Linked DNA regions of Homo sapiens: regions 2, 3 and 4 are each linked to region 1. Evidence: promoter capture Hi-C in 16 types of primary human blood cells and fetal thymus (Javierre and others, 2016). All regions are on one chromosome and are shown on one strand. The core of a region is centred on a gene start or on the middle of the fragment in contact, and the rest is flanking DNA. Distances in the headings are between cores, read along the strand shown.

Evidence for each region. The method cuts DNA at HindIII sites, captures the fragments that hold promoters and counts their contacts. A CHiCAGO score of 5 or more calls a contact.
Region 2: a contact is called between the fragment with the promoter of AGMAT here and the fragment with the promoter of FHAD1-AS1 in region 1, in 2 of 17 cell types (neutrophils and M1 macrophages). The highest score is 14.2, in neutrophils.
Region 3: a fragment that was not itself captured here is called in contact with the fragment with the promoter of FHAD1-AS1 in region 1 in 3 of 17 cell types (monocytes, M1 macrophages and megakaryocytes); the score reaches 7.5 in monocytes.
Region 4: a contact is called between a fragment that was not itself captured here and the fragment with the promoter of FHAD1-AS1 in region 1, in 2 of 17 cell types (neutrophils and M1 macrophages). The highest score is 6.1, in neutrophils.

Annotation. Positions count from the first base shown.
Region 1 is chr1:15,342,110-15,348,330 of GRCh38, reverse strand. It overlaps FHAD1-AS1 (FHAD1 antisense RNA 1), which reads left to right and starts at 4,448. Exons shown (of 2, transcript NR_148919.1): 1 at 4,448-4,555. It overlaps FHAD1 (forkhead associated phosphopeptide binding domain 1), which reads right to left. Exons shown (of 34, transcript NM_001391957.1): 17 at 3,141-3,248; 18 at 2,808-2,915. RefSeq lists an enhancer at 2,339-2,538. The HindIII fragment of the contact is 5,872 bases long and covers 1,012-6,221 here.
Region 2 is chr1:15,581,630-15,587,850 of GRCh38, reverse strand. AGMAT (agmatinase (putative)) reads left to right here and starts at 2,800. Exons shown (of 7, transcript NM_024758.5): 1 at 2,800-3,155; 2 at 4,456-4,658. The coding sequence starts at 2,884. RefSeq lists a silencer at 2,818-3,147 and an enhancer at 3,258-3,307. The HindIII fragment of the contact is 7,120 bases long and covers 1-5,886 here.
Region 3 is chr1:15,123,678-15,129,898 of GRCh38, reverse strand. It overlaps TMEM51-AS1 (TMEM51 antisense RNA 1), which reads left to right. Exons shown (of 5, transcript NR_027136.1): 2 at 5,526-5,671. Among named protein-coding and RNA genes, the nearest start is that of TMEM51-AS1, 26 kb to the left of the region's middle. The HindIII fragment of the contact is 8,431 bases long and covers 1-6,221 here.
Region 4 is chr1:15,494,604-15,500,824 of GRCh38, reverse strand. It overlaps CASP9 (caspase 9), which reads left to right. Exons shown (of 9, transcript NM_001229.5): 7 at 5,373-5,552. Among named protein-coding and RNA genes, the nearest start is that of CELA2B, 22 kb to the right of the region's middle. RefSeq lists an enhancer at 18-518. The HindIII fragment of the contact is 2,610 bases long and covers 1,999-4,608 here.

The DNA.
Region 1 (6,221 bases), core at 3,199-5,698:
TTCAAACACGAGGTTCACTGTCAGGCATTTAGAACTTGGAACATGGTTTCCATTATAACCACTGGTTAGGGCCCCAGATGAGCCTGTAAAAAGTGTTTAATCCAGAATATGGCTGAGATATTGTATACTTTGCAGTGAAAAGTAGTTGACAAAACTCTAACACTCTGCTGTCCCAACACCAGCCTTAAAGCAGAAGAAAAGTGACATCATAAGAATTTCACGTTTATTTGGATCCTTTGAAGTGGGTTTCAGGGTAGGACATTTTCCTGTGAATTGTAAAAGAGACTTTGAGGCACTTCCTAGGGACTTAGGGTTGGCTCTGCTGTGTCTGACTCTGCGTCTACACTCGCCAGGCCTTCCTCTGGGTGGCTTCTCTGCAGTCGGGACAGGTACTATTGGTAAGAGAGGCCTTGCCTGGCTCACACACAGGCCCTACATGCTCAGTTGCTGTGCTTCCAAGTTCACAACAGATAATGGGGATTAACTTTGAACATGACCTCAAGACCCAGATTATGACCTAGTGATTCTGTTGACCTTAAAAACCCTGATGATGTGGCGGAAGATCTAATGAAAAGAAAATCAGGCCGGGAGCGGTGGCTCACGCCTGTAATCCCAGCACTTTGGGAGGCCAAGGCAGGCAGATCACTTGAGGCCAGGAGTTCAAGAGCAGCCTGGCCAACGTGGTGAAACCCCGTCTGTACTAGAAATACAAAAAATTAGCCAGGCATGGTGGTGCACCTGTAGTCCCAGCTACTTGGGAGGCTGAGGCATGAGAATCGTTTGAACCCGGGAGGCAGAGGTTGCAGTGAACCAAGATCATGCCGCTGCACTCCAGCCTGGGAGACAGAAAAAAAGAAAATCAAATAGCCACTGGCAGTTGAATGGAGCCTGTGGCTGGGGCTGCTCTTTCAAATTCCCCCGATAGGAAGCCACAGAGAAGTTCTGTCAGAAGTAGGCTGACATTTTAACAGACGCGGGGTGACCCAACCACAGATCCTCTGCAATGAAGCTTGAATTTATCTCCTGAGCCCCGTGGCCTCAAAGTCTCTAAATTCAAGAATCTTCCCCAGGCTTTTGCTGTTGACATCTTGGGGCATTTGACTCAAGTAACTCTTTGGAGACCCTCCTCCTCATCCCCACCCCTGGAGAAATCACTTGGGGGCAAACCTCAGTGACGCTCTGTGAGAGGGCTGCAGGGCACACCTGTGCCAGAGACGCCAAGGGAGAACCGACATGTAAACGTCTCTCTGTCCTGGGTCAGATCAAATGGCACAGGCTTTGCCCAGAGGTCTTTTTGTTTCTCCTGCAGCAGTGGGTGGGCAAGGATTTTACTCAAGGAGTCAGTGTTGAAGAAAAACAAATGCCCAAACAGAAGAAGAGGCACAAGTGGCAGCAGAGACAGTAGTAACAGCTGCCGTTTACTCGGCAATCATTCCGCAGGCCAGGCCCTCCATTATACACTAGATCTGAGCCCACAGCCGCCCCTTCGAGAAGGGAGGCAGCGGTAGGTCTGCTGCAGCCAGGAAGTAGCCCAGCTCGGATTTGAACTTGTGTCTCATCTGGCTGCAAAGCCCGCACTCCTCTGTGCTGTGTCAGGATTGAGGAATTCATGAAAGCAGATGTGAAAAAGGATCAGGGATCTGAGGGTGACCACAAGCTAAACATGAATCCACAAATGTGACAGAGCTTTCCCAAAAGCTAGTTTGGATGCATTAACAGAAGTAGAATATCTTCAATGCGGGAGGGAGGAGTCCTCCCCTAGGCTACCGTGGCTGGAGAACAGTGGTTCTGGCCACCTCCCTTTAGGAAGAAAATGGGTGATGGGTGACAAACTCAATGCCTATGAAGCCCGGACAGATACCAAAAATGACGTGGGCTGTGTTTAATGCAACGGGGAGTGGTGAGGACTCTGGCAAACTGCTGCTACCCGGTAAGGCTTCTAGTCCATTTTTGCTAAGTAGAAACAAGGGCTAGATTTTCTGACTTTTCGGGAGAGGCTGGAAATCTGAACTTTTAAATAGATTTTATGAATTCAAAGTAAAATATTCCGGGGCCAAATATAACTTCCACAGGCCCTTTTTAGTCGCTGAGCTACCAGTCTGTGACTTCTGGAGAGCAGCACAGGCCACAGGAGGCAGCCAGGGCCAGGCTCTAGTCCTGTGAGGGACCTGAGGAACAAGGGCGCTTGGGCCCGGGGAGGAGCAGACACAGGGTGCGGGCGCCCCTGTTTTCACACATCTGAGTCATCATGTGGAAGAGGAAGTAGATGTATCTTGTGGGAGCGCAGGGGAGGGCGGAGGACTGATACTCCTCCGGGGCGTAAGAGTTTGACACAACTCAACCTAAAGGGAAAACTTTCTGTCGGCCTGAGGCATCCATGCTGGGACGGACTGTCCTGGGGTGGAGAACATTCCTTAGTGGTGGTGCTGAAGGCTGGAGGCTTTTAGGATGCTGGTGGAGGGTCCACGCAGCCCTGAGGTCCCATGACTCTGTCATTCTCCCGTTTCTGTGCTTTGGAACACAGAAGACGCCCATGTCACCATTCCTACTTGTCTCCCAAGCGCTCTCTCTCTCTGACTGTGTTTTACACTGTTTACAATTTTTTCCCAACTGGTTGTCAAGGCTACAACTCCAGGGTTCCCTCCTTGAGTCTCCCACGCTTCCCAAAGTAGCTGAGCCCACCCAAACGCAAACTCCACGAGGAAGGCTCCACCACGATCTCACCCCCATCATCGCCGCTCTGAACTTCCTTCCACATGGCCCTCAAGCCGACTGGGGCTCAGCCGACTCTATCTCCCCGAGCGTACCTCCTTCTGGCGGGCCAAGCGTTCCTCCAGCTCTTGGACTCTTGTCTGCTCTTCCTCTAATGCTTCCTTCACTCTGTTCTTCTCCTGGGTAATGCTTTTCGCCAAAGCCTGAGTCAACGATCATTGTTCAATAGACATGGTTACCATGGGAGGAAACTGGACTCTGCCAGGCACCGCACAGGTTTCCTCTTCCCTCCAGACTACACCTCCCTAGGGGACTGTGGACAGCACAGCCCTGGAGCTCAGAGCCGGCGGGCCCAGACCAGAGCCCCAGATCCACCCTTCCTAGCTGCAGTGGGGCTCGAGCTGACTCTGTCTCCCTGAGCCACATACCTTCTTCTGCTGGGCCAGGAGGCTCTCCAGTTCTTGCATTCTCTTCCGTTCTTCCTCTAAAGTCTCTTTCGCTCTGTTTCTCTCTTGAGTAATGTACTCCTCCAAAGCCTGGAAACCAATGACCATTGTTTAACAGACATGGTTACCATGGCAGGAATTTGGACGCTGCCAGGCACTGCATGTGCTACCTCTTCACTCCTCACCGCACTCCCCTGGGGAGGCTGTGGGCAGCAGAGCCTAGGAGCTCAGAGCATGTGCTCTGGAGTCAGGAGACCCAGGGTAGAGCCCCAGGTTGATCCTTTCCAGCTGTAAGGCACTGGGGAAGTGAAGCTACCAGAGCCTCAGTTTCCCTGCCTGTACAACGGAGACAGTAATAGTCTTCCTGTGTTGGGTTGATGTGAGGGGTGGATGCGACGATGAACACGAAATGCTTGGCACAGTGATAACCATGCTTCCCACCTTGCAGAGGAGGAAACAGGCTTACATTCAAGAATCCACCCAGTTTACTAGTAAATCACAAGAGGAGGGATTCTAACTCTGACCCATTTGATTCTGAAGCCTGTGTTCTAAACCAGAGGTTAGCAAACTATGGCTTACAGACCAAATCTGGTCTGTTTTTGTAAATAAAGTTTTATTGGAACACTGTGCTTGCTGTGTATTGTCTATGGCTGCTTTTGCAGAAGAGCAGAGAGCATATGACCTGCAAAACTGAAAATATTTACTATCTGGCTCTTTATGGGACAATTTGGCCAATCCCTGATCTAACCCATTGGTGTGTGCACAAACCAAGGGATTGTTGTCAACAACTGGCAATAAGAAAAGAATGTTAGATTGATAAAGGAACATAGAATTTTTTTTCCCTTTGAAACAAAGTCCTCAAACAAGTCAAGATTCATGAGATTAATGACCCTGGACACATGTATTTTCGGAAAGGGCAGGTGATGGGAGTCAGAAGGTCTAAGGAAGGCTCATTTAGTCAGGACACTTGGCACTGAAGTCCAAGAGGTAACTTTCCAAGGAGTCCCCAGGGTCAAGTCCATCAATCCGAGTATCAGAGGAAGGGCGACCTTCGAGTGTCACAGTCTGTCTGGCAGGGACCTGATGTTGCTTCCTCCCTCTGCAAGGAGGGTAGGGTGCACCGAGGTTTTCAGGTTTAAAAGAGGGGCTGACGCCAGCTCTTAAAACACTCTGCCAGGCCAGTGTCGCCAGGGTTGTCTAGGAAGACTAGGCAGGCGCCCAACGCAGTGTTTAACATGGTGGGGCTGAAATACCAAACCCTGACAAGGGAAAAAGTCCATCCAAAATTAAAAAGAGAAAATAAGGCATTTGGGATGCCGATGTTAAAAGGAGAAGGTAATCAGAGAAGAAAAAAGGAAGTCGGTGGAGAGTTCTGCGAAGATTTTGAAGATTTCTAGGTACTTTCTGGTTTTATTTTCTTCTCTATGGAACGGTGCTGGCTTTTTCCGTATCTAAATGCCCTTCAAAATGTGCCCATCTTGATTTATAGCTATCATTAATATTACCTTTATGCGGATTGCACATGATTTGGTCAGATGGCTCTTCTTTTTTAATCTTTTATTTCGCAAATGCAGAAAAGCAGAGAAAGAGGCAAAGAGAAGAAGGAGGAGGAGACTGATGTTTTGGGGTAACTGGACACACATGTGAGGATGGAGATGAAAGAGGGAGAGGTCTGGAGGGCAGGTGTGTGTGGTAGAGAAGGAGCTGGGGAAAGATGGAGAAGGGGGCAGGTCCAGTACTCTTCCGGGGAAGAGAGGAGATATCTGGGAAGAGTTGGGGTCCGGTGGATCTGGGGGGCTGCTGTCTTGAGGGGGCTGTGAGGAGGGGCAGCATGCACACGCTGCTCCACACCCACCCACAACAGTGGCTCGCAACCGTGGCTGCACTTTGCGACCACCCGGGAGTGCTTAGAAATCCCACAGCAGGGGCCACACCCTCACCCCACTAAGATCAGAATGTGGAGAGTCGGCGGGGAGAGGTGCAAGGCATTAGTAATTTTTAATCTCCTAAATGACAAAAGTCATAAAGACAGTGAAATTCATGGGAGGGGTCCCTGAATATCAAAAAGGGCCAACCCTCAGGTATGGTGGCTCATACCTGTAATCCCAGAACTTTTGGAGGCTGAGGTGGGAGGATCACTTGATGCCAGGAGTCTGAGACCAGCCTGGGCAACATAGAGAGAGACCTCATTTCTACAAAAAATAAAAATATTAGCTGGGTGTGGTGGTGTGTGCCTGTGGTCCCAGCTACTTGAGAGACTGAGGTGGGAGGGTCACTTGAGCCCAGGAGTTCAAGACCAGCCTGGGCAACATTGCAAGATCCCATCTCTACAAAAAAAAATAATAATTAGCTGGGTGTAGTGCCATATGCCTGTGGTCCCAGCTACTTGGGAGGCTGAGGTGGGAGGACCACTGCAGCCTGGGAGTTCGAGGCTGTGGTGAGCTATGGTCACACTATTGCACTCCAGCCTGGGCAACAGAGCAAGACCCCATCTTAAGAAAAAAAAGGGCCAACTCTAGGACAGTGATGAGAATCAGCTCATTAAATAATACAGTTTCCTGGCCCTCTCCAGATGTTCTGATTTAATGGGTCTGGAGGGTGGAGACCAAGATCTGCATTTTTAGCAAAGCATCTGGATGGTTCTTATCAGGAAACTTTGGGAAAACCTTCCTCTAAGCCTTCGCCCTAAGAAAATGTGGATCTGCAGACTGGTAGCGTCAGTACCATCTGGGAGCTTGTTGAAAATGTAGCGTCTCAGGCCTGCTGAGACAGAATCTGCATCTTAACCAGATCCCCAGACAATTCATGGGCACGTTCGAGTTTTAGAGATGCTGCTATCTTCTAACTGGCTTGATTTCTAGAAAAGTCAGTAGCAATTTTGACCATTTGTTTCCCCCGATATGTATAAAGAGAAAGCAAAAGACTGAAATTTGTCATCTGAAGTTGATCTTGCGCACATTTAGAAACAGTCTGTCAGCTACAAACCAGGACCTGCAGCGATGACTCAGATCTCATAAAGCCGACTGCAATACATACACAAACAAGGCACCGTTTCCTGAAATT
Region 2 (6,221 bases), core at 1,551-4,050, 240 kb before region 1:
TTACGGGCATGAGGCACCGCACCCAGTGAGACCCTATTTCTACAAAAAATACAAAAATTAGCTGGGCATAGTTGTGTGCACCTGTAGTCCTAGCTACTTGGGAGGCTGAGGCAGAAGGATTGCTCAAGCCCAGGGGGTGGAGGCTGCAGTGAGCTATGACTGTACCACAGCACCACAGCCTTCATGACAGAGCGAGACTTCTATCTCCCTTAAAAAAAAAAAAAGTTCAGGGTCTTTTGAGGGTGGGCTTCTACTGAACATTGGACATGTGGAGCTGAGGGCTGGGGTGGAGCACTGCAGGCAGACAGAAAAGCATGAACAAAGGAAAGGAGGCAAGAAAGTGGGGGCTGAGGCAGCTGACCATGGGCTGGAGGAACAAGCCCGTGGAGCTGCAGAAGGGGAAACACAGGAAGAATTGGCTCCAGGAAGCATTACCGGGCAGGCATATGTATGGTGATACTAGTGAGAGTGAGATCAGCTGGAAAGCTGGGGTGGGAAGGCCTGGACCAGAGTAACAGCAGAGGAAATGAGCAGAAGGCTTGGGGGCAGGAAACCATCAGGACTTCTTAAATTTGGGGGCGTAGAGCAGGATCAGAGACAGGGAGGTGGAAAGTCGCTGGCTGAACTTGCAGCCCACCCCAGGTGCTGTCAAGCATCCAGGTCAGGGTTAGAAATTGGTCGCCTGGAGCTCAGGGCTGGGATTTGGGCTTGTGGTTGACCTGCCTATGGGTGAAAGTCATCACCTCCGTATTAAAAGGGATTGCCAGCCGAGAAGGAGCCACGAAGGTGGAAGGAGACCAGGGGAGTCCCAGTCAAGAGGCCGCCTGAGGAACGTTTCAAGGAGAGAGGGTGCTCAGCAGTAGTGGATGTTGGGGACACCTCATTGGAACGCCTGGCACATAGCGGACACTCAATATTTGTGAGCTGAATGAAAGAAAAACCCGGAGTAAGAACATGATACATTCAGGACAAGCAACATGAAAGAAATAGCAGTTGAATTTGGGAGTCAAGAGAATAACTGAGACCCTTTAAGTGGCATAAGGGAGAAAAAAAGGAAAAAATAACTGAGAGATTGTTGCATTTGTTCCAGAAAATGGCTGGGACCTGCCCCAAGGCCAACACTAAGCACTGATAATTGACCATTAGGAAACTCTGTCCCGACCTGCAGAGTGGAGGCTCCACTCCAGAGTGGAGGCTGGAGTGGTGTGGGGTTTAATGTGCAACCTTTTTTTTTTTTTTTGACAGAGTCTTGCTGTGTTGCCCAGGCTGGAGTGCAGTGGCGCGATCTTGGCTCACTGCAAACTCCACCCTCCCGGGTTCACGTCATTCTCCCGCCTCAGGCTCCCGAGTAGCTGGTACTACAGGTGCCCACCACCACGCCTGGCTAATTTTTTGTATTTTTAGTAGAGATGGGGTTTCACCATGTTAGCCAAGATGGTCTCATCTCCTGACCTCATGATCCGCCCACCTCGGCCTCCCAAAGTGCTGGGATTACAGGTGTGAGCCACCGCGCCTGGCCTAATGTGCAACCTTTGTGTAGAGGTTGCAACGTAAATGCAAATGTGAGCCTTTTCCATTCAATCTCAACATTTAGAGATCAGAAAAAATAATATATATAATACTGCTAAATGGCTCACATAATTCCATTACAAATCACTTCTTTCTTTCCACGTGTGTTTTTCTTTCCCCTTAGAAATAAAGAGGATGTAACAGGTTCTCTGGCACTGTGACCTTCCTTACAGCTTGCCTGTAAGTCCTTTATTTATTTATTTATTTATTTATTTATTTATTTATTTATTTTTGAGACGGAGTCTTGCTCTGTTGCCCAGGCTGGAGTGCAGTGGCCTGATCTCAGCTCACTGCAAGCTCCGCCTCCCGGGTTCATGCCATTCTCCTGCCTCAGCCTCCCAAGTAGCTGGGACTACAGGCACCTGCCACCATGCCCGGCTAAATTTTTGTACTTTTAGTAGAGATGGGGTTTCACCGTGTTAGCCAGGATGGTCTCGATCTCCTGACCTCGTGATCCGCCCGCCTCAGCCTCCCAAAGTGCTGGGATTACAGGCGTGAGCCACCGCCCCTGGCCTCTAGTCCTTTTTTAACAAGGTTATTTAAAAAGACTTTACTGGCCAGGCGCGATGGCTCACGCTTGTAGTCCCAACTACTCGGGAGGCTGAGGTGAGACGATTGCTTGAGCCCAGCAGTTTGAGGCTGCAGTGAGCTATGATTGTGCCACTGCACTCCAGCCTGAGCAACACAGCAAGACCCTGTCTCAAAATAACTAGCTAGCTAGCTAAGTAGCTAACTAACTTTACTGCTTCTTGAGATTCCTATCCCTGGACATTTAAAAATACATTATTTAAAAAAATGCATTTCCTATTTTTCTGGCTTAGAGAAAGATCATTTTCCTTCATATCTTTCTGGCTTTAAAAATATTACTCTGGGGTGGCTGCTGTGGCTCACACCTGTAATCCCAGCACTTTGGGAGGCCAAGGTGGGAGAATCACTTGAGTCCAGAAGTTGGAGACCAGTCTGGGCAACACAGTGAGACCGTCTCTATAAAAACAAACAATTACTCTGAATGGGAGAAGAGGCTGCTGAAGGCCACAGTGGGGAGCAGGGCGCAGACACCCCTGGCACAGTGCCGGCCAGTGGGCACCCCCAGCCTGACTCTATTTGCCAGAGGCTGAAGTCCAGAGGGGTTGAGGGGAGAGCACGGCAGGTCCTGGGGCCCCTCCCCCGCCTTGATCCTAGGGCGCCCCTGACCTTTGAGCCGGCTCGGGTTCCGGCTCTGGCGCGTGCACACTCGCCTCGCCGTTCGGGACCAGCCAGATCGCGGCGGCCTCGCGGGCGGTTTGGTCGGTGAGGTCTTGGCCGCGCGCGGCAATGCTGAGGCTGCTGGCGTCCGGGTGCGCCCGGGGCCCGGGGCCCGGCGTGGGCGCGCGTCCTGCCGCAGGGCTCTTTCATCCGGGGCGCCGCCAGAGCCGCCAGGCTTCCGACGCGCCCCGGAACCAGCCCCCCAGCCCCGAGTTCGTGGCCCGGCCGGTGGGCGTCTGCTCCATGATGCGCCTGCCGGTGCAGACCTCCCCCGAGGGGCTGGACGCTGCCTTCATCGGGGTGCCCCTGGATACTGGGACCTCCAACCGGCCTGGGGCGAGGTAAGGCCGGAAGGACGGGGGCCGGGTACACGTGGAGGGACTGCTTGCTGGCTGTCGGGCATGGAAAGCACCGAGACAGGCGCCCCTGCTGGCCCCGGGTCGAGTTGGAAGCTGGTGGCCGGCTCCAAAATGCCCCTTATGGTTTGAGATGGTTGATTTACCTGGACCCTCAATAAGCAAACCCCAGGGCTCAACATGGGCGTGGCCTCCCACATCTTAGTGTCATCATTGGTCAAGAAGGGATTTTGGCCGGCCCGGTGGCTCATGCCTGTAATCCCAGCACTTTGGGAGGCTGAGGCGGGCGGATCACGAGGTCAGGAGTTCGAGACCATCCTGACCAACATGGTGAAACTCTGTCTCTACAAAGGTACAAAAAAAAGAAAAAAAAAGCCGGGCATGGTGGCGCGGGCCTGTAATCCCAGCTACTCGGGAGGCTGAGGCAGGAGAATCGCTTGAACCCGGGAGACGGAGGTTGCAGTGAGCTGAGATTGCGCCACTGCGCTCCAGCCTGGGCAACAGAGTGAGACTCCGTCTCAAAAAAAGAAAAAAGAAGGGATTCTGGAGCCTGAACCTTCTCTGTGTCCCCATCCTGGGGCCTTGCTGGGATGGCTGCTGTGGATTCCTCCCCTCTCCTCTCCCCAGCTTACAGTGGCAGGTGACATTGCATTTGAGAGCAGAAACTGGCTGCCCCTTCCCCAAATCTGAAGATGTCACCTGACTCAAGAAATGCTCAAATGAAGGCAATTTTCCTAGGATCAAGTCGGAGGAAGCAAAATTCATCTTCCTAGTTATTGAACGTCAGCAATTTCTGATTCAGCTCAGCAACACTATATCTGACCGTACTGATCTGAATTATGAAAGCCAGCACTTATTAAATGTCTCCTAAGTGCAAGGTGCTTTGCATAGATTACCTCATTTAATTTTTACTACAGTGCAAGGTAAATATTTTACAAATTAGGAAACTGAGACTCAGGTAGATCATGAAATTCACTAATGCCATTTAGTACACTTATTTAGTCTCTTCGATACATAGCCTAGATCGGTGATTCTCAAGTGGGGCGGTTTTGCACTCCGGGGACATTTGGCAGTATCTGGAGGCGTTTTGGGTTGTTACACCTTGGAGGAAGGGTGCTACTGGCACCTAGTGAGTACAGGCCGGGATGCTGCTAAGCATTCCATTATGCAATGCCGCGACACGGAATCATCTGGCCCCAAATTGCTGAGGCTGAGAAGCCCTGGCCTAAGCAAAGCCTGAAATCTCTGCAGATGATGGCTGACAGGATGATTCTTCCTTCTGCAGATTCGGACCTCGCCGCATCCGGGAAGAATCAGTGATGCTTGGGACAGTCAATCCTAGCACGGGGGCCCTCCCCTTCCAGTCCCTCATGGTTGCAGACCTAGGCGATGTGAATGTCAATCTTTACAACCTTCAGGACAGCTGCCGGCGAATTCAAGAGGCCTATGAGAAAATTGTAGCAGCTGGCTGTATTCCTCTGACCTTGGGTAATGTCAGTCTGCAAGAGCCAGAGTAGTTCCCTGCACTCAGGGTTTACTTATCCTGTACTCAGGGGCTTGAGTACAGCTACTTCTCCCCTGCAAGCCACTGCAAATGTGCAGACAGTAGGAAAGAGAGCATTGTAATTCATTTATTTTAATCCCTGGGGAGAGAATATTTCACGTGTGTGTGTATGTGTGTGTGTGAGACAGTCTCACTCTGTTACCCAGACTGGAGTGCAGTGGTGCAATCTCGGCACATTGCAACCTCCACTTCCTGGGTTCAAGCAATTCTCCTGCCTCAGCCTCCCAAGTAGCTGGGATTACAGGCGCCCACCACCATGCCTGGCTAATTTTTGTATTTTTGGTAGAGTCGGGGTTTTGCCATGTTGGCCAGGCTGGTCTTGAACTCCTGACCTCAAGTGATCCGCCCACCTTGGCCTCCCAAAGTGCTGGGGTTACAGGCATGAGCCACCGCGCCTGGCCAAGATGATGTTTCTAATGACTTTATTTGCGAGGAGAACTGCAAAGAGGGTGTTTTTGTCCTGCTCAGGGTCTACATCAACCTATAGGGCAGCTTTCCCCTTATCCTCACCCCTGACCCACTCTCACTTTTTCTCTTGTTCACAAATACTTAAAATGACAGGGATCTTTTCCTAAATATCCAAATTCATTTTTGCCAAGTTAGAGAGCCTAGCCTGCATGGCATAGTGGGAGGAGTGTGGTTTCCCGATGGCATGGTTTGAAGTCTCAGCTGCACTTCTCCCTAGCAATGTTGCTGTATACCGTGCTTGATGCTTCACACCCTCACCTGTAAGATGGGAATGATCACAGTAACACCTACTCACTGCATGATGTGAGGGGCATATAATGAAAGTGCACATGAAATGCCCAGCATCAAGCATGGCATATCTTTTTTTTTTTTCTTTTTTTTTGAGACAGAATTTCACTCTTGTTGCCCAGGCTGGAGTGCAATGGCACGATCTCGGCTCACTGCAACCTCCGCCTCCCGGGTTCAAGCAATTCTGTCTCAGCCTCCTGAATAGCTGGGATTATAGGCGCCCGCCAGCATGCCCGGCTAATTTTTATATTTTTAGTAGAGACGGGGTTTCATCATATTGGTCAGGCTGGTCTCGAACTCCTGACCTCAGGTGATCTGCCCACCTCGGCCTTCCAAAGTGTTGGGATTACAGGCGTGAGCCATTGCGCCCGACCTATGCATGGCATATCTGAAGCTTCAATAAATGTTAACTGTTATTATTATCAGAAAGAATACTTTCCTAGGTCTGTGCTGTCCAGTAAGGTAGCCACTAGCCACATGTGGCTACTTAAATTCTTTTTTTTTTTGAGACAGAGTTTTGCTCTTGTTGTCCCGCTTGGCTCACGGCAACCTCCGCCTCCTGGGTCCAAGTGATTCTCCTGCCTCAGCCTCCTGAATAGCTGGGATTACAGGCGCGTGCCACCACGCCCAGCTAATTTGTTGCATTTTTAGTAGAAATAGGGTTTCAACATGTTGGCAAGGCTGGTCTCGAACTCCTGACCTCAGGTGATCCGCCGCCTCAGCTTCCCAAA
Region 3 (6,221 bases), core at 2,497-4,996, 220 kb after region 1:
ATGACATGGGACTCACTGGGCTAAAATCAAGGTGTCAGCAGGGCTGTGTCCCTTTCAGGAGGCTCTAGGGAGAATCCGTTCCCTTGTCCTTTCCAGCAGTGAGAGGCTGCCGGCACTCCTTGGTCTGTGGCGCCTTCCTCCATCTCCACAGCCAGGAATGGAAGTTGAGTCTTTCTCATGTTGCACCGTTCTGACCTTTTCAGTAGCCACACTTACCTCTGACCCACTTCTTTCTCCTCCTTCACCCAGCGTTAAGGATCCCTGTGGCTACATAGGGCCCCCTGGATAATCTAATCTAGATATTCTTCCTATTTTTAGGTCAACTGATGAGCAGCACTCATCTCACCTGCAACCTTAGCTCCCTCTGCCATGTAAAGTATCACAGTCACGGGTTCTAGGAACCAGAGTGTGGGCCTCTGGGGACCCATCATTCTGGTGACCATGGAGTCCTTCCTTGAATCAGTTTTCATGTGACCCAAGGGCCTCCCCTTTCTCACAGGCCACACCTGGCTGCCTGATTGTCCCTGGCAGGGGGGTCCTGGCACCCAGAGGAGGAGGCGCTCCCCATATGCCCAGGGGCCAGGAGGGAGGCTCATTAATCGTGTAGGAACATGAAGAGGAGGCAGGCGGCTGGACAAAGTGATGTTCAGGGTCTTGCTTCGAGGTTCCCACGTGTGTGTCTGACTCCCTGGGGCTGCCCACGTGGTCCTGTGGTCCTGTGGTTTTACTCCAGGAGGCCACCTGCCTGCCACCCCTCAGAGGAAGGGAAAAAGCTGCCGTTTCACGTTGGAGCTGCACGCACAGAGGAAGACCTCCTGCCTGGCATCAGGCCATTCCTCAACTCATCTCCTGCTGGGTGGTCTATCGTCCTCACAGCGTGCTGGGCTCAGGATCTGGGCCTCCTGGCTGGAAGGGAATCTGGGTGGCTTAACAGGTTTTATTTGTCCTGAGGCCAGCTTTCAAATTTTGCCGACCCCACTGATGTTTCTGGCATCCTGTGGAGGAAAGAAAACAAAAGCCATTTCCCCCCCAAAAGCCACCTTTTGGGATTGCAGACAGCTGGCAGGGATGGTGGGGGGCCCTGCCCACCTGAAACTTTGTCTACTGGGCCTGGATCTCTGAGTGGCCTAGGCTGCTTTGGTCCTTCTTGAGCTGAGCTGGGCTAGGCTGGTGAGGGGCGTATTGTCCTGCCATCTAGTGGCGAGTTCTGGGACTGCGAGCTATAATGGCCCAGGCGCTGCCTATAGTGGAGCCATATATACCAGGGCGGTTGGTCCCAGGCCCCTGGTCATGCCACAGAATCACCAAAGGAAGTTTAAAAACTACGTAGGCTCCAGACTCACCCCACACCTAGTGAATCAGAAATCCCGAGGCCTGGAAATAAGCATTTTAACTTTAGCGTGTAGATTCCCTAGGCCCTATCTCAAAACCCTAAATTATTGGCTTTGGAGAAGGACCTAGAAATCGGAACTTTTAACAAGAGTACTCCAGTGACTCTCGTGAGCAGCTTGACTTGAACACCACCCATTCAGCTGCCCACAAGATAAATGAGGCAACTGTGGGATGTAGATTATTTTAAAAGCTGATACAATATTCGATCGTATTACTAGGAGCATAAAGTCCAGGTTAAGGGAGGATAGCAGTTAAAAACATCTGGGTTCGAATCCCTACTTTTGATACTACTAGTTATGTGACCCGGGGCCAGTGTCTTAACTTTTTCCTGCCTCTGTAAAGTGGGGATAAGAGTACCTGTCTGCCAGGATTACAGCAAGGACTCAATTAGATCTCATGTAAAGGGCACAGGGCCTGACCCTTGGGAATTGGGCCCTTCATTACGATTCCACTGCTTGGGCCTATGTGGGAGCACGGTGTCCTTATTCAGGGATGTATTTATGAGAGGATTGTCCAGAGAAGGAAGAGATGGAAGGGGAGACCATGGAAGAAGGACAAGGGGCATGGAAAAGGCTTGAGGGTCTGTAATGGGGTTGGGGGAAGGAGATGTTTTGGGAGGGAGGCATTTATGCTGCTTAAAAAAAATAACAGGCCAGGCGCGGTGGCTCACGCCTGTAATCCCAGCACTTTGGGAGGCCGAGGCGGGCAGATCACCTGAAGTCAGGAGTTCGAGCCCAGTCTGGCCAACATGGCGAAACCCTGTCTCTACTAAAAATACAAAAATTAGCCGGGTGTGGTGGCTCATGCCTGTCATCCCAGCTACTCAGGGGGCTGAGGCATGAGAATCACTTGAACCCAGGAGGCAGAGGTTGCAGTGAGCCAAGATCGTGCCACTGCACTTCAGCCTGGGTGACAGAGCAAGACTCTGTCTCCCCAAAACAAAACAAATAACAGAGGGTCAACGTGGAAGAGGGACCAGGAGGCAGAGTGATAGAAAGTCCCCATGAGCAACTGGAACTAAGAAGGGCACAGGCAGACTCATGGTACAGTGAGCTCACAGCCACAGGAGACTGCAGGCCGATGCTGCATGAGGAATCTGTTGGGTGCCATAAAGCAGTGGTTCCCAACTGTGGCACTTATGTCCCTCATGGAGTGTGACCTGATTTGGGGGACATGCAGGTGAGCATTTGCAGGAATATTTATTTGTATATTTATGTGCATACTTGGCACATAGAGGCACACATATCCGTACCCACATCTATGTATTAGAAAACAGAGCCAGCGTCTTAGGCCTGTGGTTACACAGACACAGGCAGTGATGTCAGGTCTGGCCCGATTTAAAATAGGCAGCTATTATGCCAATAATAGTAGAGCTGGTTGTGGATGTGGTTGGAATAGTCAGGGTGGTCTTGGGGAACCCAGCCATAGAGGAACTTTCTGCTTGGGTTTGGAGACTGATGTCAGTGACATGGACTGGCTTTCCTGTGAGTGAGGACTCCACCCCAGGGCCTTCACTCTTGTGTCACCAAGAGGGTGTCGGCAAAGTTGCCGTTTTTAACAAGCCAGTCTGAAGCCTCTGGTGACCTCGATGCTGGAGTTTGTTGGGTTAAGTGACCACAAAACCAAATGAACCTGCCCACCTAACACGTGTCTCCTGGAGTCTTTCACTCTTGCTTTGTGTTTCTTTTCTTCACAGCACCTGCTGACATGATATATATGTATGTGTGCATTATTTCAGGCCAGAGACTGTTTTGTCAGTAGATCTATTTCACATAGTGCTGGCATAAGGCACACACACCCAGCAAGTGTTTGTTGAGTGAATAAATGATGGAAGCAACTTTGATAAGACTTGCTCCAGTTGTTTGGGGATGCCAGTTGCATGCCCATCTATCTCTGAGAGGCTCCTGGAAGAGCATCTTGCAGCAAGTGTACCAGGGCTCTGTGCTGTCAGGGTGGTGTTGGCTCCATCCTCTTGGCGCTGGGTTGATCTCTATCCTGAGCTAGAACCGGAGTTGTCCTGGAGAGGAACCTGGCCAGAAAAGAGCCATGTGGAAACCCTGTGAAGAAACCAAAAGAGGGGCGATGGTCCTGGGGTGTCCAGATGGTGGCATGGCAGTGAGGAGACACAGAGCCATAACTTGCCCACAAAAGCAGCCTGGCTTCTGACTCTGCAACTCTCACAGGCTCAAGGGGACGACATTGTAACCAAAATGCAGATTCAGTTCCTCGCCACTTGCAGAGTCTAATTAACAAGCTAGGTCTGGTATAAAGAAAGTGACTTTTTATTCCAAAGCTAACATAGGGAAAGAAGTACAGGCTTCCTGCCTTAAGGGTTCCACCTTGCCTTTGGAGCAGAAGGGGAGTGTTTTTAAAAGGGGCCTACACAGGGGTGGAAGTGAGCAGGGGGGTTTCACATGCTACCTTGATGGCTTATTTACTGGGACTCGAGTTGGCATCTTCATGGGCATACTTTGGGTCATCAATCAACTGTTATCTATCGAGGAAACCTCCTGGTGGGTGAGAGTTTTGCTTTGGAGCTTCTAAGCACATGATTAGGTGAACTTGCCCTGTAAGGAGTGTGTGGGGAAGAGGAGGTAAAAGGCTATAACTGCATTTCTAAAGAGCTAAGTAGGAAGTGAAGAACAGGGAGAAATGGAGAAAAGAAGAGAAAATAATAAAGAATAATAGTAACTCCTTGTCTTTTTCCGGGAAAAATGGGGGCACTTGTTACTCATCTCTAGCAGCAAGACTGGGTCAATTAAAAAAACAGAAGAATTTAGGATTCTTTCATGCTTCCAAGTTGTTCTGTGTAATGCAGATAGAGTCCTTAAAATGCAGGCGAGAGTTGTGTGTGTGCATGTGTGTGGTATGTAGTTGCTGGGAGAAAGGGTGGGAGTCACCTCAGTGTCAAGGCCAGTGGACAGTAGGTCATTTACCTGGGAATCTTCTCCAGTCAAGCATGTGGAATCCAATTCTAGTTGTCTTTAGCTGGTGATGGGGGTAGTGTGTGAGACTCTTACGTGCTGAATTGCATATCCTCAAAATTCAGATGTGGAGTACCTAAGGGTGTATTTGGAGATCAGATCTTTAAAGAGGTAATTAAGTTCAAATGAGGTCAGATGGGTGGGCCCTAATCCAACATGACTACTGCCTTATAAGAAGAGGCGATTTGGGCACACACATACATAGAGAGGCAACCGTGGATGGACCACAAGGAGAATATGGCCGTTTGCAAGCCAAGGAGAGGGGCCTCAGAAGAAGCCAACCCTGCTGGCACCCTGAGGTTGGATTTCCAGCCTCCAGGACCATAGGCGGGTCCATGTCTGTTGTGCAAGCACCGTGGCCTGTGGCTCTTGATTATGGCAGCCCTAGCAAACTAAGACACAGAGAAATGGGAATGGTAGGGTGGTGGTGCTTAGTGCATCACAACCAAACCTCAGAAAGCAGGGGTGGACGTGGCCTTGGAGACGACTGGATCTGAGAATAGATCAGTTGTCCTTGCCCCCCTCCCGCATCTAGGCATCCGACTCTGGCTGGGCCCCGTTCTCTAGGCATCTCCTTGTGGGTGGGATGGGGCAGCCTGCAGCTCTGGGACTCGTCGTACAGCTTAAGATCCAAAAAAAAGCGGCAGCTCACCGCCACCTGCAATTCTGAGCCCTGTCGGAAAGGGTTCTGATTTTCACCTCTCAGGTTTGGAGTCTACTCCCGGGCCTTTCATCATGGGCCAGGGCTGCAGGGCTGGATTGGTCCAGCCAGGATCCTGAGACTTCCCTGAAGGCGGGGTTGGGGGTGAGGTGGGGGCAGCAGGATCCTAAGGGCACTAAGATCAGCAGCACCCCCACCTCCAAGAACTTCACGGAGTGGGGGCGGAGCAGTTCCCTGAGGCCAGCCAATCAATCGGGAGGTCTCAGCAGAGATGCTTTCCCCTCTCCATCCTGATTGGTTCCCACCCAGGAATTTCCCATGAAATCCAAACCACAAGGCTCGAGGCGGACCCCCACTGGGAGGTCCCGGGCCGCGCCTGGGGCGCAGGCAGGCGGGTCCCTGTGAGTGTGTGGAGTGGTGGTGGCTGTCGACGGCCATGTGGCGTCATGGTGATAGGAGGGTGTCCATTCTTTTTCTTCCTTATCTAGGACTTGAGGTGGGACATGGAAGAACAGGGACCCCTCCTGGTTTGTCCACCCAGCCCACACCTCCATTCCTCACCCAACCTACCACTTCAGAGCCGGGAAAAGACCTCAGAGAACATCCGCTCCGACTCTACCGAGGCTCAGACAGGGTAAGGAGTTGGCCCCACGTCACACAGCCTGGTGTATGTGGCAGAGCCTGGGTGACAGACAGTCAGCCCCACCAGGTCTTTCAGCTCCAACCTTGGTTAGAAGGGGAGGAAGGCTGGCACACCCAGCTGCTGCCAGGCACCGCCGCTAATGTGCTGTATTAGTGGCCGGGCCTGAATCACTTGCCCAATTTGGACGTGGGCAAGTTTCCAAAATGTCCTGGTTGTTTCCTATTGTCTATTTTTAAAAAATGATGGCCTGTAATCCCAGCACTTTGGGAGGCTGAGGTGGGTAGATCACCTGAGGTCAGGAGTTCAAGACGAGCCTGATCAATATGGTGAAACCCCGTCTCTACTAAAAATACAAAAACTAGCCGGGCGTGGTGTCGCGTGTTTGTAGTCACAGCTACTTGGAAGGCTGAGACTGGAGAATTGCTTGAACCTGGGAGGCGGAGGTTGCAGTGAGCCGAGATTGCACCACTGCACTCCAGCCTGGGCGCCAGAACAAGACTCTGTCTCAAGAAAATAAATAAATAAAAATAAATAAAATTTA
Region 4 (6,221 bases), core at 2,054-4,553, 150 kb before region 1:
TTCTTAACGGCATCCCCCACTTAGGCATCCCTCCGCCCCCACAGGCTGCCAGGCAGACCCAGCACCATCACATTCACGCCTCAGGCCTCCTTGCTGTGCTGTTTCACGTCATTCCCAGACACCTGGGGCAGATTCCGGAGTCTCTACCAAGAAAACAACCAGAAGCAATGAACCACAAAATCTGGAGAAAAACATGGCTGTCACAGATCAAAGAGGCCCCCCTTTGGAGGCTGGGGGCCTCCGTGAGAAGCAGTGGGATAGTTGAGAGGCAAAAAACATGGGGCAGAATTCCGCGCCCCTCATATCAGCTGGGAGAATGCCAATGACCAGTGGTTTCTGAGCTTTAGCTGTGTGGGGTAAGAGGTCAATAGATTTTGGTGTTACTATTATGGGGTTGCCAGAGCCACCTCTGTTCCTGCCAGATGGGCCCCCAGCTCCTCTGGGTGAACTGTGACTTCCCTCAGTCACATAGATCCAGCCATGCAAACCTGCCTGCGTTGCGGCCACAGCACTTGCTGTCTCTCTCACCAGGACCGTTCTCCCTGATGGCATCAGGGCCTGGATCACAGTCACATTCTCCAGGAGTGTTTTTGCAGGGGACCCTCTGGATCACTCCTACTCCAACTTCAGCCTATTTTTAAAAAAATTTCTCTTTTTTTTTCTGCAGTATGTATACATAGTTAAATATATATTTATATTTTTTAACCAAAGCTCTTGTTAGATGCCTTCTTTCCTGAGTAGCCCTCTGTGCTCCGCCTTACCCCACCCACCATGAGCCCTACTGCAGAAGACCTCATCCCGGAAGACCTCCGTCAGTGTCTCCACTTCAGTAGCTCTGTAGCTGAGCCATGTGGGGCACAAGTCCTGCCAGGACCTCTCTGTTTTCCAAGCTTGGCACTGCCTTTGGGGAGTCTAGATTTTAAAATGGAAAAGACAAAAAATATGGCAACCTAAAAAAGAAAATAATTCAGAATGTTATAAGCTAATACAGCCATCTCATTTTTGCATCTTCCTTTTGGATTCCAGCCCATGAGCACAGTCTGCTTTTCTCAGCTAACGTTATCCCTTAAGCAGTTCCCCAGATCTCCATGGCCTTCATCATCACTAGCTCAAATGGCTTTATAATGGGCCATTTTCATGACATGCACTAATTTACTAAACCATTTTCCTAATGTCGGCCATTTAGGTGATATCTAATTTTTGGCTCACACAACCACAGGTGTCTTCATATAGAAAGCTTTTGACTGCATTTGAATTATTTTCTTAGGAAATTACTGGATTAGAAGGTGTAAACATCTCCATGGATTTCATTATCCATGACTTGGTGTCTATTTGGTATTTTTCTGATGGCTTCTTTGATTCTAGAAAAGGATTTGCCATAGTGCAAGAAGTACAAATGATAACACTAGGACAAAATAGAGAGGGAACACAAGGAGAGAAGAAAAGTAAAAGTTTGGATTCCAAAAATACATCCTAGGATGTCCTGCAGCTTTCTACAGTTCTCTAATGTACAAGTGAATTAAAAATTTAAGGTATACAACGACTGATTTTAGAGATAAAATCACTTTGCAGATGTAAAGAAACATGGAAAAATCCCAGCCATTGGTAATAGTAGACTCAAAAATGAGGTAGGTCAAAGTCCCAGTCAGCCTCTGTCTGGGGGGAAACCCCTTAACTTATCTCAGTCTCAGTTGCCTAATTACATAAAATGGAATACTGATAGCTACTTGCTAGAGGTGGCCTGCGCATTTTTTACGCTTTCCAGCCGCCATTGGAAATAAGATCATTGGCCAGGGGCGGTGGCTCACGCCTGTCATCCCAGCACTTTGGGAGGCTGAGGCGGGCAGATCACGAGGTCAGGAGATCAAGACCATCCTGGCTAACACAGTGAAGCCCCATCTCTACAAATAATTAGCCAGGTGTGGTGGCACACGCCTGTAGTCCCAGCTACTTGGGAGGCTGAGACAGGAGAATCGCTTGAACCCAGGAGGCGAAGCTTGCAGTGAGCCATCGCGCCACTGCATTCCAGCCTGGATGACAGAGCGAGACTCTGTCTCAAAAAAAAAAAAAAAAAAAAAAAAAGATCACTTTCAAGATCCATGGAATCTGGTGTTCTATAGTTCTATATCTGGTATTTGCAAGACAGAAGTCAGGAATAGAGACTCCAGACACATTTCTTCCCTTGGTTGTCTTAAAGGGGACACTGTGATCTTGACAGCCTGAGTAAAGGGTTTGAGTGAGTGCCTATGATATAGTGGACAGTTTCCTCAACTATATTTCTAAAAAAAGACAAGTTTTATGTCTTTTTAAAAATTGTGGCAAAATACATATAACATAAAATTTACTATCTTAACCATTTTTTTGGGGTGATTGCTTGAGCTCAGGAGTTTGAGGCTGGAGCGAGTTAAGATCATGCCACTTCAATCTGGGCAACAGAGCAAAAGTGTGTCTCTTAAAAAAAAAAATGCCTGTAATCCCAGCACTTTGGGAGGCCAAGGCAGGCAGATTGCTTGAGCCCAGGAGTTTGAGACCAGCCCGGGCAACATGGCAAGATCCTGTCTCTACAAAAAATACAAAAATTAACTGGGTGTGGTGGCACCTGTAGTCCCAGCTACTTGAGAGGCTGAGGTGGGGGATCACTTGAGCCTGGCAGGTCAAGGCTGCAGTGAGCTGTGATTGCACCACTGCACTCCAGCCTGGGTGACAGAATGAGACTCTCTCAAAAAACAAAAACAAAAACAAAAAACAATCCCCCAAAACAAAACAAAAAACCACTGCCCTCTCCCCACTGAATGGTCCTGCCACCCTTTTCAAAATTCATTTGACCACGCATGTGAGGGTGTATGTCTGGGCTCTATTCAATGACATTGACCTATGTCTGTCTTTATGCCAGTACCATACTGTTTTGATTACTGTAGCTTTGTAGTAAGTTTTGAAATCAGGAAGTGTGAGTCCTCCAATTTTGCTCTTTTTCCAGATTGTTTTGTCTATTTGGGGTCCCTTGAGATTCTCGTGTGAATTTTAGGATAGATTTTCTATTTCTGCAAAAAACATCATTGGGGTTTTGATAGGGATTACATTTAATCTATGGATTGCTTTGGGTAGTATTGAGATCTTTAAGTTTTCTAATCCATGAACATAGGATATATTTCCATTTATTTATATCTTTTTTTTTTTTTTCTTGAGACAGAGTCTCGCTCTGTTGTCAGACTGGAGGACTGTGGCGCCATCTCGGCTCACTGCAACCTCTGACTCCCTGGTTCAAGCAATTCTCCTGCTTCAGCCTCCTGAGTAGCTGGGATTACAGGCACACGCCACCACGCCCAGCTAATTTTTATATTTTTAGTAGAGACGGGGTTTCACCATGTTGGCTAGGATGGTCTCAATCTCCTGACCTAGTGATCCACCAGCCTCGGTCTCCCAAAGTGCTGGGATTACAGGCGTGAGCCACTGTGCCTGGCCTATGTCTTCTTTATTTTTCTTTCTTTCTTTCTTTCTTTTTTTTTTTTTTTTTTAGATGGAGTCCTGCTCTGTTGCCCAGGCTGGAGTGCAATGGCACGATCTTGACTCACTGCAACCTCCGCCTCCTGGATTCAAGTGATTTTCCTGCCTCAGCCTCCCAAGTAGCTGGGATTACAGGTGCCCACCACCACGCCTGGGTAATTTTTGTATTTTTTAATAGAGACGGGGTTTTACCATGTTGGCCAGGCTTGTTTCAAACTCCTGACCTCAGGTGATCTGCCTGCCTTGGCCTCCCAAAGTGCTGGGATTACAGGTGTGAGCCACTGTGCCCGGCTCTTTTTCTTTTTTGAGACTGGGTCTTGCTTTGTCACCCAGGCTGAAGTGCAGTGGCGCGATCACTGCACACTGCAGCCTCAACTGCTTGGACTCAAGTGGTTCTCCCACCTCAGCCTCACGAGTAGCTGGGACCACAGGCACATGCCACCACACCTGGCTAAATTTTTTATTATGTGTAGAGATGAGGTTTTGCTGGTCTGGAACTCCTGGGCTCAAGGGATCCTCCTGCCTCAGCCTCCCAAAGTGTTGAGATTACAGGCGTGAGCCATGGCATCCAGCCTTCTTTCTTTCAGCAATGTTTTGTAGTTTTCATTTTACAAGTCTTTCATCTTGGTTAAGTTAATTTCTAACTATTTTATTATTTTTGATGCTATTGTCAATGGAACCATTTTTGTAATTTCTTTTTCTGATTGTTCATTGTTAGTGTATAGAAATGGAAGTATTTTTTGTGGTTGGCTTCGTATCCTGCTAATATGCTAATTTTATTTGTTCTAATAGTGTTTCATCTTTAGGGTTTTCTGCATATAAAATCATACCATTTGTGAGTAGAGATAATTTTACTCCTTCTTTCCAATTTGAATGTCTTTTATTTCTTTTTCTTGCCTCCTTGCTCTATTAACTTCTAGTAATGTGTTGAATAGAAGTGGCAAAAGCAGAAATTCTTGCCTTCTTCCTGATCTTATAGAAAAAGGTTTCAGTCTTTCACCATTGAGTATAATGTTTGCTGTGGGTTTTTCATATATGGCTTTTACTATGTTGAGGTAGTTTCCTTCTATTCTGAGTTTGTTGACTGTTTTTATCATGAAAGCTTGTTGAATTTTGTCATGTGCTTTTTTCTGCATCAATTGAGATGATGATGTAGGGTTTTTTTCATTCTCTTATGAACCCCAAAAATCTGAGACAGGTCTCAGTCAATTTAAGAAGTTTCTTTTGCCAAAGTTAAGGATGCACGCCCAGGAGACAGGTCTATGCCTTTCTCTGAACATGAATTTTAGGGTTCCAAATTTAAAGGGGAAAGGGCAGGATATTGAGAAGTACACAGTTTTCAGGTAAGAGCAGGGTAGGGGGAAATAGTCATTCAAGCATTTGTCTGGCTCAGTGAATTTGCATTTTTACGTAAGGTAACATAGGGCAGGGGAAAATGCAGGGAACCTGCATTTTTACGTAAGATAACAAAGACAAATGGGGCAGGGGAATAATCAGATATGCATTTGTGCCAGGTGGGCAGAGGGGTGATGCCTCTGTAAAGATAAGCTATCCATTTACATTGCCGTGGTGAATTTTATCAGACAACTATCTTGGAGCTCACCAGGAATTTCCTTGTGGGCAAAATATGGGAGAGGTGTGTAGCTTTTCATCTTGTAGCCATCTTATTTAGGAACCAAAACGGGGAGGCAGGTTTGCGTGACCCAGTTCCCAGCTTGACTTTTCCGTTTGGCTTAATGAGTTTGGGGTCCCAAGATTTATTTTCCTTTCACACTGTTAATGTAGTATATTGCACCGACTTTCATATGTTGAACCATCCTTGTCTGTGTATTTCAATGACAAGAGGTGTTTGTTTCTGCTTCCTGCAGAGCAGAAAGACCATGGGTTTGAGGTGGCCTCCACTTCCCCTGAAGACGAGTCCCCTGGCAGTAACCCCGAGCCAGATGCCACCCCGTTCCAGGAAGGTTTGAGGACCTTCGACCAGCTGGACGCCATATCTAGTTTGCCCACACCCAGTGACATCTTTGTGTCCTACTCTACTTTCCCAGGTGAGCACATCAGAAGGGCTCGTCCTCGCAGCCAGTGGGTCTTCCCGTCTGCCCTAGAGGCAGCTGTGTGGTGAGAGAAAAGACCAGGGTATGAGTCCTGGTTCTGTCTTTTGCCCCTCTGTGACCCTGAGCAAGTTACTTCTCTCTGAGCCTCGGCTCAGGCTGAGCGGGCAAGGATGCGCGCTGCAAGGAGGCCTGCGCCCTTGGGTTCCTATGCCTCACTTGCCTCTCCTCTGCCTGACCCTGCCTCTGCCTTCGCATCTTTAGCAGGGGAATAGGAATCGTGCCTCAGGGGTTTCCATGGGAATTAAACAAGGTGGCTGGCACGTCACTGAGCACAGTGCGGGGCACGTAGTAGTTGCAGCAAGCGGTAGTTTCCTTCCTTCTTTTTTTTTTTTTTTTTTTTTTTTGAGATGGAATCTCGCTCTGTTGCCCAGGCTGGAGTGCAGTGGCGCGATCTTGGGTCACTGCAAGCTCTGCATCCCGGGTTCACACCATTCTCCTGCCTCAGCCTCCCAAGTAGCTGGGACTACAAGCACCTGCCACCACGCCTGGCTAATTTTTTGTATTTTTAGTAGAGATGGGGTTTCACCGTGTTAGCCACGATGGTCTCGATCTCCTGACCTCGTGATCCACCTGCCTCGGCTTCCCAAAGTGCTGGGATTACAG